5 separate regions of the Homo sapiens genome follow, and regions 2, 3, 4 and 5 are each linked to region 1. Evidence: promoter capture Hi-C in 16 types of primary human blood cells and fetal thymus (Javierre and others, 2016). All regions are on one chromosome and are shown on one strand. Each heading gives the region's core, a stretch centred on a gene start or on the middle of the fragment in contact. The rest is flanking DNA. Distances are from core to core; before and after follow the strand shown. Region 1 holds the start of FAM111A (FAM111 trypsin like peptidase A). Region 2 holds the start of OSBP (oxysterol binding protein). Region 3 overlaps GLYAT (glycine-N-acyltransferase). Region 4 holds the start of TRV-TAC1-1 (tRNA-Val (anticodon TAC) 1-1). Region 5 holds the start of OR4D6 (olfactory receptor family 4 subfamily D member 6).

Evidence for each region. Contacts are between HindIII fragments. The CHiCAGO score rates a contact against its expected background, and 5 or more counts as called.
Region 2: the fragment with the promoter of OSBP here is called in contact with the fragment with the promoter of FAM111A in region 1 in 1 of 17 cell types (non-activated CD4 T cells); the score reaches 5.0 in non-activated CD4 T cells.
Region 3: a fragment that was not itself captured here is called in contact with the fragment with the promoter of FAM111A in region 1 in 2 of 17 cell types (non-activated CD4 T cells and naive CD8 T cells); the score reaches 5.9 in non-activated CD4 T cells.
Region 4: a fragment that was not itself captured here is called in contact with the fragment with the promoter of FAM111A in region 1 in 1 of 17 cell types (total CD8 T cells); the score reaches 6.3 in total CD8 T cells.
Region 5: the fragment with the promoter of OR4D6 here is called in contact with the fragment with the promoter of FAM111A in region 1 in 5 of 17 cell types (M2 macrophages, neutrophils, naive B cells and 2 more); the score reaches 6.1 in M2 macrophages.

Annotation. Positions count from the first base shown.
Region 1 is chr11:59,141,562-59,144,227 of GRCh38, forward strand. It overlaps FAM111A (FAM111 trypsin like peptidase A), which reads left to right and starts at 1,295. Exons shown (of 6, transcript NM_001312909.2): 1 at 1,295-1,385; 2 at 1,522-1,743; 3 at 1,936-2,134. It overlaps FAM111A-DT (FAM111A divergent transcript), which reads right to left and starts at 1,247. Exons shown (of 4, transcript NR_110184.1): 1 at 1,054-1,247. It also overlaps the pseudogene LOC100422399. RefSeq lists an enhancer at 1,063-1,512. The HindIII fragment of the contact is 3,476 bases long and covers 1-2,666 here.
Region 2 is chr11:59,614,423-59,617,088 of GRCh38, forward strand. OSBP (oxysterol binding protein) reads right to left here and starts at 1,352. Exons shown (of 14, transcript NM_002556.3): 1 at 881-1,352. The coding sequence starts at 1,242. It overlaps LOC101927226 (a long non-coding RNA gene), which reads left to right and starts at 1,532. Exons shown (of 3, transcript XR_001748237.2): 1 at 1,532-1,753. RefSeq lists silencers at 985-1,204, 1,225-1,524 and an enhancer at 1,725-1,814. The HindIII fragment of the contact is 16,614 bases long and covers 1-2,666 here.
Region 3 is chr11:58,724,012-58,726,677 of GRCh38, forward strand. It overlaps GLYAT (glycine-N-acyltransferase), which reads right to left. Exons shown (of 6, transcript NM_201648.3): 2 at 405-500. The coding sequence starts at 485. Among named protein-coding and RNA genes, the nearest start is that of GLYAT, 6.6 kb to the right of the region's middle. The HindIII fragment of the contact is 3,793 bases long and covers 1-2,666 here.
Region 4 is chr11:59,548,106-59,550,771 of GRCh38, forward strand. It overlaps TRV-TAC1-1 (tRNA-Val (anticodon TAC) 1-1), which reads right to left and starts at 2,596; the gene lies at 2,524-2,596. The region is part of intron 3 of LOC102723575 (a long non-coding RNA gene); the gene reads left to right. RefSeq lists enhancers at 2,193-2,412, 2,568-2,666. The HindIII fragment of the contact is 947 bases long and covers 869-1,815 here.
Region 5 is chr11:59,455,642-59,458,307 of GRCh38, forward strand. OR4D6 (olfactory receptor family 4 subfamily D member 6) reads left to right here and starts at 1,320. Exons shown (of 1, transcript NM_001004708.1): 1 at 1,320-2,264. The coding sequence starts at 1,320. The coding sequence ends at 2,264. The HindIII fragment of the contact is 6,869 bases long and covers 916-2,666 here.

The DNA.
Region 1 (2,666 bases), core at 45-2,544:
CTCCCACCTAGTATATAATCCTTCCTTTTGGAAACAAATTTTATCAGTATATTCAATTCTGAACACCCATGTTTTAGAAAATGTTAAGCCTATTGTCCTTTAATCACTATTTGCTTACACATTAAAATGTAAAACAGGCAAAAGAGAAAGAAGGAAGAAAGGAGGGAGGGAGGGAAGGAGAAAAGTGAGAAAGAAAGAAAGATAAAAGAAAAAAGAAAGAAGAAAGAAAGAAAGAGAAGAAATAAAGAGAAAAAAGAAAGGAAGAAAGGAAGGAAGGAATGAAGAAGAAAAGAAAAAAGAGAAAGAAAGAAGGAAAGAAAAAGAAAAAAAGAAAGAGAAAGAAAGAAAGAAAGAGAAAGAAAGAAAGAGAGAGAGAGAGAGAAAGAGAGAGAAAAGAAAATTTTCTCCAGATTAGAATTATTGGCTGCTATTGTTTGGATGCTGGGTACTAGCTGTGATTACCCTTTGTGAATGTAGGAATGCACAGATTCCAAAAGTGAGTCTCATAGAAAAAGTCAGCATTCAAATATGTTTTAAGGTTACTCTATCCAAACCCCAAAGAACCCACAGAAGATGAAGCAGTAATTTTAGCTTCTCTTGGTGTATTGTACATGCATTTAAGGCCAGTTCCTTCCTTCAAATTCCCATGTGTTTTGTAGTTACCAACACACCTTTCAACCCTATCTGTTTATATACATCATATAGTCCTCTGTCAATTGCATAAAAGTTGTCCCCTTTGTGACTGTAATCGCCTTTTCCAATACACATCTACTCAGAATGCAGGTCCTTAAACAGCAGGCTGCCTTGAAAACCCTCTCCAATCTTCTTCGATCATCAGCTTTGAGATGCATATTCCTAGAGCCCATATCATCTTCTTCATCACTATCATAAACGTCTCCACATATTGATGAACGTTTGGAGAATCGATTTATGACAAGGGAGTTTACTCTTCCTGCATCCGCGGCTTCTTCGTGATTTTGTCCTAGTCACCGGGCCTATCCCACCTGCTGGGGATGCCGCCCCCTCGGAAGTGCCTGAAATCTCCCCACTTACCCAACTAGCCTCAGCGCCTCCTGTGTGCTGCAGCAGATGGCGCGCTGCAGACCCCAGCCTGGTGCCTCCGCGACTCCTCCCCAACCATGATTTACAGGCGGGGACAGCCACATTCCTGCGCCCCAACTTCCACCTCCGCTTCCTGCGCGCGCGAGACTCAAGCTGCCACAGTGGCTCTGCCGCCAGCGTCCCAGCTCCTCCCACACCCGAGTTTTTATTTCCTGCTCCCTCTCCAGCCCGGCCCAGGCCAGCCTACCGGCGACTAGGATGCTTTCGCTTTCGCTCTCGCTTTCCAATACTCGGGACTGGGGAAACCGGGAGAATAGAAGCAGGCAAGGACCGCCGTGGGCACGGGGTCAGTGAGACAGGGTCCTGCTCGCGGCGTCAAGGAGGAGCGCTGTGGGTGGGTAGGGTAGGCGCGCCCCCTCGGCCTTGCCTTTCCAACCACTCTTTTTTGCACGCCAACAGGTGTCCCCAGCGCAGCCAATCGGCTTCCGAAGTAGGTGAGTTGCTGCCTGAAGAGAAAAGACAAACTCCAGTATCTTTCATTCCATTGGCCAGACGCGCCATTCCCCAAGTGAGTTCTGTTCTCCAACCAAAGTGCTGGATTCCAAGGGACTGGAAGGGAAAGTCCCTAAAAATCACGAGTTCAGGCGTCTGAGACTTGGTGGGAACGGACCTTCCTCTTAGGTGAGTTACTCTTTGGTTCTGGGGCTGACCTGGAGTTTTGCCAGGATTCATTGGCCGCAGCAGGATGCTGGTGGGGACAGGGTAAATAAAATCTGCACTCCTGCGGGCTTTTATTGTTGAAAGGGGCACTGACGCTCTCCCTGGAAACTTAAAAAGAACAGCCAAGTGAACGGATGTGTCTTTCTTTTGCAGTGCCCAAGCCTGTTCTAATTTTTAAAAACTGATGTCTATTAAGACCCAATGTTAACTTTATGAAAATGGTTCCTAAGGAGATTCACATCTCTGTGTCCGAATTCTGTGTGCAGCAAACATCATCTCAAGTGCGTTTTCCCAACTACGCTTCTTTCCAGGATAAAATACTCTAAGTGACAAATGTTGAGTACATTATCAGGTATGTTCACTATTGTGAGAACTGAAGCCATCTACACTCACATAGCTTGCCAACTACATTAACCTGACTTCTTATTCCATTATTTTCATCAACATACATTTACTATTTCAAGAAACTTTTGCCAGGGACCGGAAAGTTGCAAATATCTTTATTGCTTAATCCAGTATCTTCTTCAAAGATCCAACCACTCTTCAATGGAAAACATCAAAGAACAGTTTACATTCTAAGACTTTGAACCTTTACCTCAAAATCCTAGCCTTGTTTTATCTACCAATCCTAAACTTTTACCCGTAGCTGACTCAATTCTAACCAATTCCCCTCATTAAATATTAGACTTACAATGGGACTTCAAAATCTCAATACATATAGCCCAAACTTGCTCTTCCCTCTCTGAGACACCACTTAAATTCTGTCAAGTTATTGTTCTCCATTACCTAAGTGAGCAAGAAACTTAGCTTTGTCTTATCAACAGGTTGCTTTGATATTACTGGGAGCCAACATTTGACATTCTTGGAGGCTCCAGCAAGACCTA
Region 2 (2,666 bases), core at 102-2,601, 470 kb after region 1:
CCCAAATCACCTATCTTAACTCCTCTATCCTTTTTAGCCCAAAAGCGTGCCATGTGATGGCCAGGTTATGAGTCACCATAAATATATATTAAACAGTCCAAAATAAACCTTGTTGAACAGAAGTAATCACACCAAAGACATGGATTCTTCTTTTAATAAAAGTTAATCCTAACTAACCAAAAAATCACAGAAATGCCAGATAAAACACTTAATCATTTCCACGGGAGGAGGTGGGGCAAGCAAAAATAAAAGCAGCACTGGGGTGCACATCTCCATTCTGGGCTGTCCAGAGGCCAAAGCACATGCAAAGTCTTGGAGAGATAAGGCAGAAAGGGGACGGAATACCGAAGCCACCCTGTGTGTGTGATGCCCTTATGTCTGAATGTGAAGGGAGCAAGGACGGGTACATCCAGAGCTACGAATAACCTTGAGTTTTGGAGACTGGGCACTGACAGCTACAACTTGGGACTTCCACTGTAAGTTCCTTGGGAGGAGTGCCTCGGGTTTGTTCTGCTGCATGTGTTCCCTTAGTACCTACACCAGTGCCTTGCTTGCAGAATTAATAATTGCACCCATGTGCTGGTGGAAATACAATGGAAGCACAGACGCTCTCCAAACGACTAATGACTGGAAAGGCCGGGAGCGAAGGGAAGATAAGGCACCAAGAGTGGGTAACCCGAGGGGAGGGGAGGTGTACGTCCAGGGGCTTTTCACTTTCGTGACAGTGGGCTCCGACCCCTGGGCTGTCAATCCGCACAGATGACGAAAAGGGGCCTGGGGCAACCCTGGCTGCGGTGCCGGCTGGCGGTAATGCCGGAGCTGGGACTGTTGGCAGATATGGGGGAGGCAAGGTGAGCGACAGCGCCCCGGAAGCAGTTACCTGTAGTAGCTCAGGAGCCCGTTGCTCAGCACGAACCATCGCCGCTGGTAGCCTTTGATATAATTGGTCCATTTGAAGAGCCAGCCCTCTCGAGCCGAGCCCGAACCCCCAGCGCCCGAGCCGCCCGAGCCCCCAGTCGGCGGCGCAGGGGCCGGGCCAGCCGCCGCCACTCCCCCGGCCCCCGGGCCCGGGCCTCCCGCCGCCGCCGCGACCACCGTCCCTGACGCGGCCCCGGAGCCTGGCCCCGCATCTCCGCGGCCGCCGCCTCCTCCCACCACTGGGGGACCGGCGCCGCCGCCGCCAAGTGCTGCAATGGCTGCCGGGCCTGGCCCCACCACTCCTCTCAGCTCCGTCGCCGCCATGAGCCGCCGCCGCCTGGAGATACAAGACCGGAACCGCCTACGAGAGCCGCCGTCGCCGCCCGGAGCGCCCCACACGGCTACCGCATCAGCCACCGCCGCGCAGCGTCCCCGCCCCGCCCGGCCAGCCGCGGGGAGGAGGGCTCGGCCGCCGGGAAGAAGGACGTCGATTGGTGCCGCTGAGTGTCACTTGAGGAAGACCCCGCGGATATTGGCATTTCTCTCGGGCCTGTCATTCTACAGCGCCCAGTGAGAGCCTGGGGTGGGACGCGTCCGCCAGACCCACCTTTGATTGGTTCAGATAAAGGCCAATCAGACTTTTGGGGAAGCTCATTGGTGCTTTCCTGAAGTTTCCAGCGCTCAGGGAGGACGGGAGAATGCGGAATGCCCGGCCAATCTGATCGCCGATTGGCTGCTGTTTCCGCCATTCATTTCAGTTTATGCGCCTGTCACTGCCACGTCACCCCCTCCCATCGCTCTTCTCATCATCCTTTTCCGCCCTCATGGATTGGTGGTTGGTATCAGCTGCTCCACCTTTTCTACCATTTACTGAACGAGTTGAGGAAAAAGGGAAGGAGTCTCGTCTTTACATCCTTATTTTCTTTTTTTATTGGTTGGCACCTATGCCACTCACGTGGTGGAGAGGCGGGGCAATAGTTGGAGATGATTGGTTCTGAGAATTGGCTGTGAAAGCGGCATTGCTGACCAGTGAGAGAGACCTAATGAGGAGCAGGCCGGGGCAACCAATGAAATCGGAGAAGAGCGCTTGGGGGCGTGTCCGCCTGCTTTCAGCCTTTGGCAAGTTGGTGGGAGGTGAAAGTGACTTGGCCTCTTAAAAGCGTTTTTTTCACGTGGGTGTGATGTCGTGTTCCGTTTTTCTGAATAAGAACTTCGTAGCTTCTTGTTAGGAAGAACCTGGAGGACAGAGTAACTCTCGGCAGTCAGCCCCCGCCTGAGGCTCTCTTGAAGGACCCCCTTCTAACTCGAAGCTGGATACCCAGATTCCAGGGGTGCCCAGAAGTAGCTTTTCCAGCCCCTTCCTGGATCCATGGTCCCCCTAGTTCCCTTCCCTGTTTGCTCTTTATCGCTCCACACCCCTTGTGTCTTGATTCTAGACTGTCATATGCCTATACCGATTCTGTCCCCTTCAGAAGTAGATTCGCGAGGACCTGACTTTATGTGTCTCTTCCAGACCTAAAGGCCCTTGGTTTTAGCATCATAGGTGCCATGTATATGCTTAACTTTGAACAGAAAATTATTATTTTTTGTATCTTTAAACTGATATATCGTAGTTGTACATATTTAACTTTGGACAGAAAATTTTTTTTATATCTTTAAACTGATATAGTTGTACATATTTTCAGGGATACATCTGATATTGTGATACATGTATTCAATGTATAATTATCAAATCAGTGTAATTGGGA
Region 3 (2,666 bases), core at 56-2,555, 420 kb before region 1:
CAAGTTAAACATTAATATGCAGCCTCAGCCAACTTTGTAGAACTCTGGGCAAATTTCAAATGTTATTATAAAATGCTTCTTGGAAAGGAGCAAGGAAGTAATTTTTTGAGTTAGCACAGAGCAAAAGGCAGTGTTTAGACTAAGGCATAACTATGTTCATATCATAGCATTGCAACTCAGTATTTGTGATATATTGAGAAAATCAGTTAACTGAGTCTTCATTTTCTTAACAGCAACATGGACATGACAGTAAACATCTTGTAGAGAGGTAAGGCATACTAAATGAGAGAAAACATGAAATAGTGCCTGGCTCAAAATAGGTGCATCATAAATATCAGTCCCTTTCCCTCCTCTTTCACATCAAGTTTGTCTTCTTTACTCCTCTCAGAATTTTCCATTATCACCTTTAAGGATGCTGGGAGGCTCTTCCTCAAGGATTTCTCCAGCATCTGCAGCATCTGGGCACCTTGCAATGGTAACATCATGGAGGATACCTTAGCCTAGAAAGACAACCAAGGAACATACAGGATTGAGAAAAGCTAGAGGAGATTCTGAAACAAGAGTAGCAAGTTCTTTATTAATGACCAGGTTTTTTTTTTTTAGTGCCTTTCAACTGCAGTCCTCAGCAAATCCAAGAGAAAATGAGACTCGTAGAAAACACAAGGAGCTTTCTCTGAGTTTTTTAGCTCTTTTTTCTTACCCTTTGATGAATTCCAGCCATTAATTTCATTTTAGATTTAAAAAGTACATTTTTAAATACACATAATATCTTTTGAATTTTAGTTGCTATTAGTGATTCTCCTGACTCCTCTGAGAACGAGCTGTGTAACCTTGGGAAAGTTATTTAGTCTCTCTGTACCTTGGTTTCCTCAAAGGTAGTTGGGATAATAGCACTATATCACTCAGAATTTTTGTAAGGATTAAAGGAATGAATACCTGCAATGTGCTTAGTAGATTGTAGGTCTTATATTAAGCACTGAACATTTGTTATTTATTTGATTACTACCACCACTCCTCTTTTCCTCCTCTTCCTTTTCTTCTTTCCCCCACTTGAGCCAAAGTCCTATATATTGCATGATGTTTTGATATAGGCATTTTAATAAAGGGCATTCTGACATGGTCTAAATATAAACAATTAACCTTTCAAAAATTATTACTGCATCATATTCAAAACTTGTACTTTCACCAAGCCTCACACTTTGAGGCTAATTCCATCTTTAAGCCTTATACTAGGATCTGTGGTACATTTTGTAGAAATTACTAAGTAATACAAAAATAGCATTTTTACATATTTGACTAGCTGCATCAAATTGGGATTACCTAAACACTTCATAACATCACAACTACCTGAAAAATGAAGAAAGATGTTGTGTCACTGTGTTCTATTTTGGAACTGTGATGTTTGGAAGAGAGCAAAGTAACTTCTAAGTGAAGGTAGGGCTATGAGAGAGTGTTGCATTAAAACTGGTCTGATGCAAGATTCCATAACTAGGTAACCTTGTGATTTTAGAACATCAGTGAAAAGCCTTTACTGGTGGTGCATCTGTACAGGTCTGTAGCATCCTCAATTCTTGCCTCCTCAACAGAAAGAATTTGACTGAGGGGCAGAAGGCAGAAGGAGAGACCAAGGCAAGTTTTGGGGTAGCAGTAAATGTTTGTTAAAAACATCAGAGCAGGAGGGAAAAGAAGTAAAGTGCATTTGGAAGGGGGCCAAGTGGGCGACCTGAGAGATCAAGTGTGCAGTTGGACCTTTTGACTGAGTTTTATATGTAGGCATAATTTTGGGGTCTTGTGTCCATTCTCCCCTGATTCTTCCCATGGGGGTGGGCTGTCCACATGTTCAGCAGCCTGCTAGCATGTGGGAGGTGAGCATGTGTAGTGTGAGCATAGAGTTGTATGCATGCTAACTTAAGGCATTCTCCCTTACCAGTCAAATGTCCCTAGAAGTTCATATCATAATTAAACTCTGTCATTTTGCCTCTGAATGCACATGCTTAAGCCTGCTTGCCCAACTCCTGAGGTCTTGTCAGGAAGCTGCTGATCACCATTTTCAGGTTTGGTTTTTTTTTGTATTCGGAGACTGAACCTGGCTGGCACTGGCTGTGACCAATTATTATTTTAGAGAGACAGTTAACAACCACTGGACCATCACCTGATGGTTGCCTGACATATCTGGGTGTGGGATGTGGGGCATGGAGCCTTCTCCTGCCCTACTCATGCCTGACTATCTACCTTGTGTAACATTTCCCCCACCATGAGTTCAAGACCCCAATTATTTGGGGAATATAGACAAAGGTCAGTCTTCTATAACTGCTTCCTGCTGACAGAGGGGTAGTAGTGGTTGTTCTGTGGATTTGGCCTCTTGCTAGCTGTCAGGGCAGTAGTAGCCAGCCAGGTTCAAGGGGGACAGGGGGAGGATTTCAATTCTGTCATGTCTCACTGATGGGCAGCCTAGGGGTCCCCTGTAGAAGGGTGACTCTTGAGTATTGAGAAGACAATATACCTGCCTCTGGTCCCTGCATTTCTACTTTTTCTTAGCCCTGTCCTCCTTATTCTGTTCTTCATTATAAAAGACTGAGAAGGCTAATTTGAGAATTTCCTGCATAAGGGTACTGGGTTCCAAGATTGACTTTTGTAATTTTCTCTCATTCCATTCTTAGGCCAAG
Region 4 (2,666 bases), core at 92-2,591, 410 kb after region 1:
TGGGTTTTGGCCAGCTTCTTTACCACAGCCTGTTTTATCAGAAAGGTCTTTATGACCTGTATCTTGTGCCGACCTCCTATCTCATCCTGTGACTTAGAATGCCTTAATCTCCTGGGAATGCAGCCCAGTAGGTCTCAGCCCTATTTTACCCAGCCCCTATTCAAGATGCAGTTGCTCTGGTTCCAAGGCCTCTGACAGAAGGTTGAAACATTAGAAAATGTTTAACTATACAACAATCAGGAGAAAATATAGAATAATTTTTGAAATATAATCTCAAAGTGAGTAAGTATTTTCTAGGCAGGAAATGTTAAAAGCCCCTCTCCTGCACCCCCCCCAAAAAGATGATGAAATTGACTTCAAAAAAATGTTTAATTTCTACATCGCACGGAATATCAAAAATATAATCAAAAGACAAATGGCAACTCTGGATACATTTGCAAAATATATCCTAAATCTGAATTTACAAAGAGCACCTAAAAACCTATTTATTTATTTATTTATTTAGAGACGGAGTCTCGCTCTGTCACCAGGCTAGAGTACAGTGGCACGATCTCGGCTCACCGCAACCTCCGCCTCCCAGGTTCAAGCGATTCTCCTGCCTCAGCCTCCTGAGTAGCTGGGATTACAGGTGCATGCCACCACACCCAGCTAATTTTTGTATTTTTAGTAAAGACAGGGTTTCACCATGTTGGCCAGGATGGTCTCGATCTCTTGACCTCATGATCCGCCCTCCTCGGCCTCCCAAAGTGCTCAGATTACAGGCGTGAGCCACTGCGCCCGGCCTAAAAACCAATTTAAACATAAATTAACAGAATATATACATAAGAAAATTGAACAAAAGAGGTGAACAGATAGTAGGAAGAAAGGAAGCTTTTAAGTACATGAAAAACGTTCAACCTAACTCACAATAAAAAAACACAAAATAAACCATTTCCAGCTGACTCAAAATTCAGTTATTTTCATTTGAGAGAGACAGGAAGAACAAGGGCTTTCATATTGGTGTGAGTGTAATTTGATACAAGCTGTTTTGAAAGGAGCTGTGGCAGGGTTGGTGGGGACGAGCAGGGAGGTTGGTGGGACGGGTTTGCAGAGGGCGTCTCACTTTTTTGCCCAAGCTGGTTTCAAACTCCTGGGTTCAAGCCATGCTTCCACCTCGGCCTCCCAAAGTGCTGGGATTACAGGTGTGAGCCAGTGCGCCCAGCCATCAATTAAATTTCTTCTGAGACATAAAGGCAACACTCTTCTTGCTTGGGTTGGTACTGTGTTCTGTCCCTGACCAGGGGTGTAACCCTGGGCCATTTCTTAATCTCATTATGCTTCCTCTCCCTCGTCTGTAAAACGGGATAAATAATAATAGAGACATTGTGAACATTAAGTTAGCTACCCATGTAAGTGCCTGTTCAAGGTTTTGCTAGGATTATTTTACATATTGCCCTGCCTGAAACCAAGGAACAAGGAAATCTGCTCAGCATTGTTCCTAAGACTAGATACAATTTAAGTGTTCATCAAAAGGCATAAAGAATTGTGATATATCCAAACACAGGAAGTAAAAGGATAAGCGAAGATGTATGAACGAAATAGGAAGATTTTCAGAATATTGTTGAGGAAATGGGAGCGGTACCTATGTGTGCTACCTTCGTACAAAAAGCGTGAAGTGGGTTTTAAAGTAAATGTACGTGTATACTGGTGAATGCATAGACAATTTCTGAAGGGTCACAAAAGAAACAGCTAACCATTGAAAGATGGGATGGAAACATCAGTTGTGAAATACGTGGAGGGATTCTGAATTCTGTGCATGAAATTAATTTTTCAAAAAGCTTTTTTTTTTTTTTTTTTTTTTTGAGACGGCTCTCTCCCAGGCTGGAGTGCAGTGGCGCGATCTCGGCTCACTGCAAGCTCCGCCTGCCGGGTTCACGCCATTCTCCTGCCTCAACCTCCCGAGTAGAGTAGCTGGGACTACAGGCACCCGCCACCACGCCTGGCTAATTTTTTTGGTATTTTTAGTAGAAACGGGGTTTCACCGTGTTAGCCAGGATGGACACGATCTCCTGACCTCGTGATCCGCCCGCCTCAGCCTCCCAAAGTGCTGGGATTACAGGCATGATCCACCGCGCCTGGCCTCAAAAAGCATTTTTAATTTAAATAAATAAAGTATGAGGGCGGCCTTCGTGATGTCCTTCGACTTAGTGGTGGCAATTTTTAGAGATGGCCCAAGCAAGGCTTAGGAGAAGGTAGGTGAGCCAAGGGGCAACACCCAGGAACCCAGAAGCCGGCTGGCCAGGTAGTGGAAAGGCGCAGGCGCAGGGGCGAGCGAAGCCTCGGTGGAGCGGAGCCGCCTGCACCTCCAGAGAGGCGCCATACGGGGGCCGCCGCGGAGGCCGACTCAGCGCCGAGCGCTAAGAGAAACCGGGCTGATGCAGCAGGCGGGAAACAAGCCGTAGAAATTCTTGAGACACGGGTTCGTCGCCAGCTTCCTGGTGCAAAACCCAACACCTGGCTCACAAAACGCTAGGTAACATCTCATGGTTCCACTGGGGCTCGAACCCAGGACCTTCTGCGTGTAAAGCAGACGTGATAACCACTACACTATGGAACCCCACACGACTAAAACGTTCCTCCAGGATTTGATAATTGTTCAAAAAGACATTTTGGCACTGGGAAATGGT
Region 5 (2,666 bases), core at 70-2,569, 310 kb after region 1:
TTCTAAAGTAAGAAACATTAGACTAATTTATCTCTGAAGTCCTGTGACGCTCTAATGATCAGTTTTTCTGTGATACTAAAACATGCCCTGAACAATGACTGTGGCTCTATACAAAGAGCCCTGTGTGTCAATAGCAAGGTCCAGGCTTCCCAGAGTGCCAAAGAGGAGTACTTATGAGGGCCTGACCCTTCTCTTTTTATAAGGGATGAGATAAGGATTAGGTAGTCAAACTACTTAATAAACTGTTTAAGCCTTATATACACACTAGAATTCCGGTAAGCCAAAGTAAGCCCCAGACTCTCTGATTTCTCAGAGTTGTACAGTGGAAAAACCTCTGGAGACTGTTATGTTAAAGAAAAATTATTCACCAGACAATTATTAAAGACAGGAAGATAGATTTCATTTAAAACTCTTGCAATAGAAGAAAAAGATTGAGCTCAACTCGAAATATAGTGAAAACAAGTGAAGATTTATAAGCAATGAGCAGAGTGAGGGAGGTCAGTGGATTGAAAATTACTAAGAAGTGATATCAAAGGTAGGGTGGTTCTTGCTAAACTGGCATAAAAGAATTCTTGCTAAAGACTGGCCAAGGACTTAGATATTGAGGGTGAGGGATGAGGTTAAAAATAATAAATATATAAAAGGGTAAGGGGTGAGGAATTTGATTAGATTTCAAGGGTGTGGAATTCTCATTAAACTGACTTGGCAAGATTCCTGTTAAAATTGGGCTCAGCAAAGACAGACACAGAAGGTCAAGGTTGAGTCATAGTCAAGAAAAGGGCTCAGAGGAGCCTAACCAACATTTGGTCAAGGAGGGAATCTTTCTCAAGTCAGGAGATTGATTTGTATTTGAATCCTCAATTTACAATTCACTAATTTTGCGACTATGCAGATGTAAGTCATTAACTGCTGTAAAGCTTCAGTTTCCCCGTATATAAAATGGAGATAACCATACTAAAGACTCTTCAGAAACTTCATGAGAATTGAAATCAGTATGAGCTATTGCAGGTGAAAGCCCTTGGTAAAGCATAGGCAAATGGCCATAGTCCATCCATCTCTCTCTGGTCAGAGTGAGGATACAGACATGTGATGGTTTTTTCCTGTTAACCCAAGGTATTTACAATAAGAAAGAAGAACCATATGAAAGAAGAATTTCCAGACCACAAAGAGAAGACTGGCCCAGTTTTTCTGTGTAGTCATGATGACCTGGATGCTTGAGAGCAGTATGTGATCAATGATTTTGCCACCTCATGTCACCATAATCCAAGTTCTAACATATCTTCATCAAAGGTAGGACCTGGAAGAGAGTCATCCCCATCATGGACCAGATCAACCACACTAATGTGAAGGAGTTTTTCTTCCTGGAACTTACACGTTCCCGAGAGCTGGAGTTTTTCTTGTTTGTGGTCTTCTTTGCTGTGTATGTAGCAACAGTCCTGGGAAATGCACTCATTGTGGTCACTATTACCTGTGAGTCCCGCCTACACACTCCTATGTACTTTCTCCTGCGGAACAAATCAGTCCTGGACATCGTTTTTTCATCTATCACCGTCCCCAAGTTCCTGGTGGATCTTTTATCAGACAGGAAAACCATCTCCTACAATGACTGCATGGCACAGATCTTTTTCTTCCACTTTGCTGGTGGGGCAGATATTTTTTTCCTCTCTGTGATGGCCTATGACAGATACCTTGCAATCGCCAAGCCCCTGCACTATGTGACCATGATGAGGAAAGAGGTGTGGGTGGCCTTGGTGGTGGCTTCTTGGGTGAGTGGTGGTTTGCATTCAATCATCCAGGTAATTCTGATGCTTCCATTCCCCTTCTGTGGCCCCAACACACTGGATGCCTTCTACTGTTATGTGCTCCAGGTGGTAAAACTGGCCTGCACTGACACCTTTGCTTTGGAGCTTTTCATGATCTCTAACAACGGACTGGTGACCCTGCTCTGGTTCCTCCTGCTCCTGGGCTCCTACACTGTCATTCTGGTGATGCTGAGATCCCACTCTGGGGAGGGGCGGAACAAGGCCCTCTCCACGTGCACGTCCCACATGCTGGTGGTGACTCTTCACTTCGTGCCTTGTGTTTACATCTACTGCCGGCCCTTCATGACGCTGCCCATGGACACAACCATATCCATTAATAACACGGTCATTACCCCCATGCTGAACCCCATCATCTATTCCCTGAGAAATCAAGAGATGAAGTCAGCCATGCAGAGGCTGCAGAGGAGACTTGGGCCTTCCGAGAGCAGAAAATGGGGGTGAGCAGTCAGATGGAGAGTGGAAGTCTGTCTGACTTAGTTTTCTCAAAATGCTAGCCTAAGAGTAACAGGTCGCTAGCTCTTCTTCCACTACTTCATTGTATATCTTCATAGCCGCTCGATTCTATTAGCGGGAGTATACAAACAAAAAGAAGAAATGAGATTAAACAATGTGAGCTATCGAGCTTGTGGACTCAGGAGAAGAAGAGGGTATAAGGTTGAAATCAATACCCTAAATGCTTTTTGGTGTTACCTGTGACTCATACCAACACTTATCTCACTTTTAGCACCAGTAATATGGAAATATCATTACTTGCTCACAAGTTTGTCAAAAGAATGAAATGTGATCAATGCTGTGAGGATGATAGTTGTGAAGGTTAGTACTGCTCCTGGCATTAATCAGGTA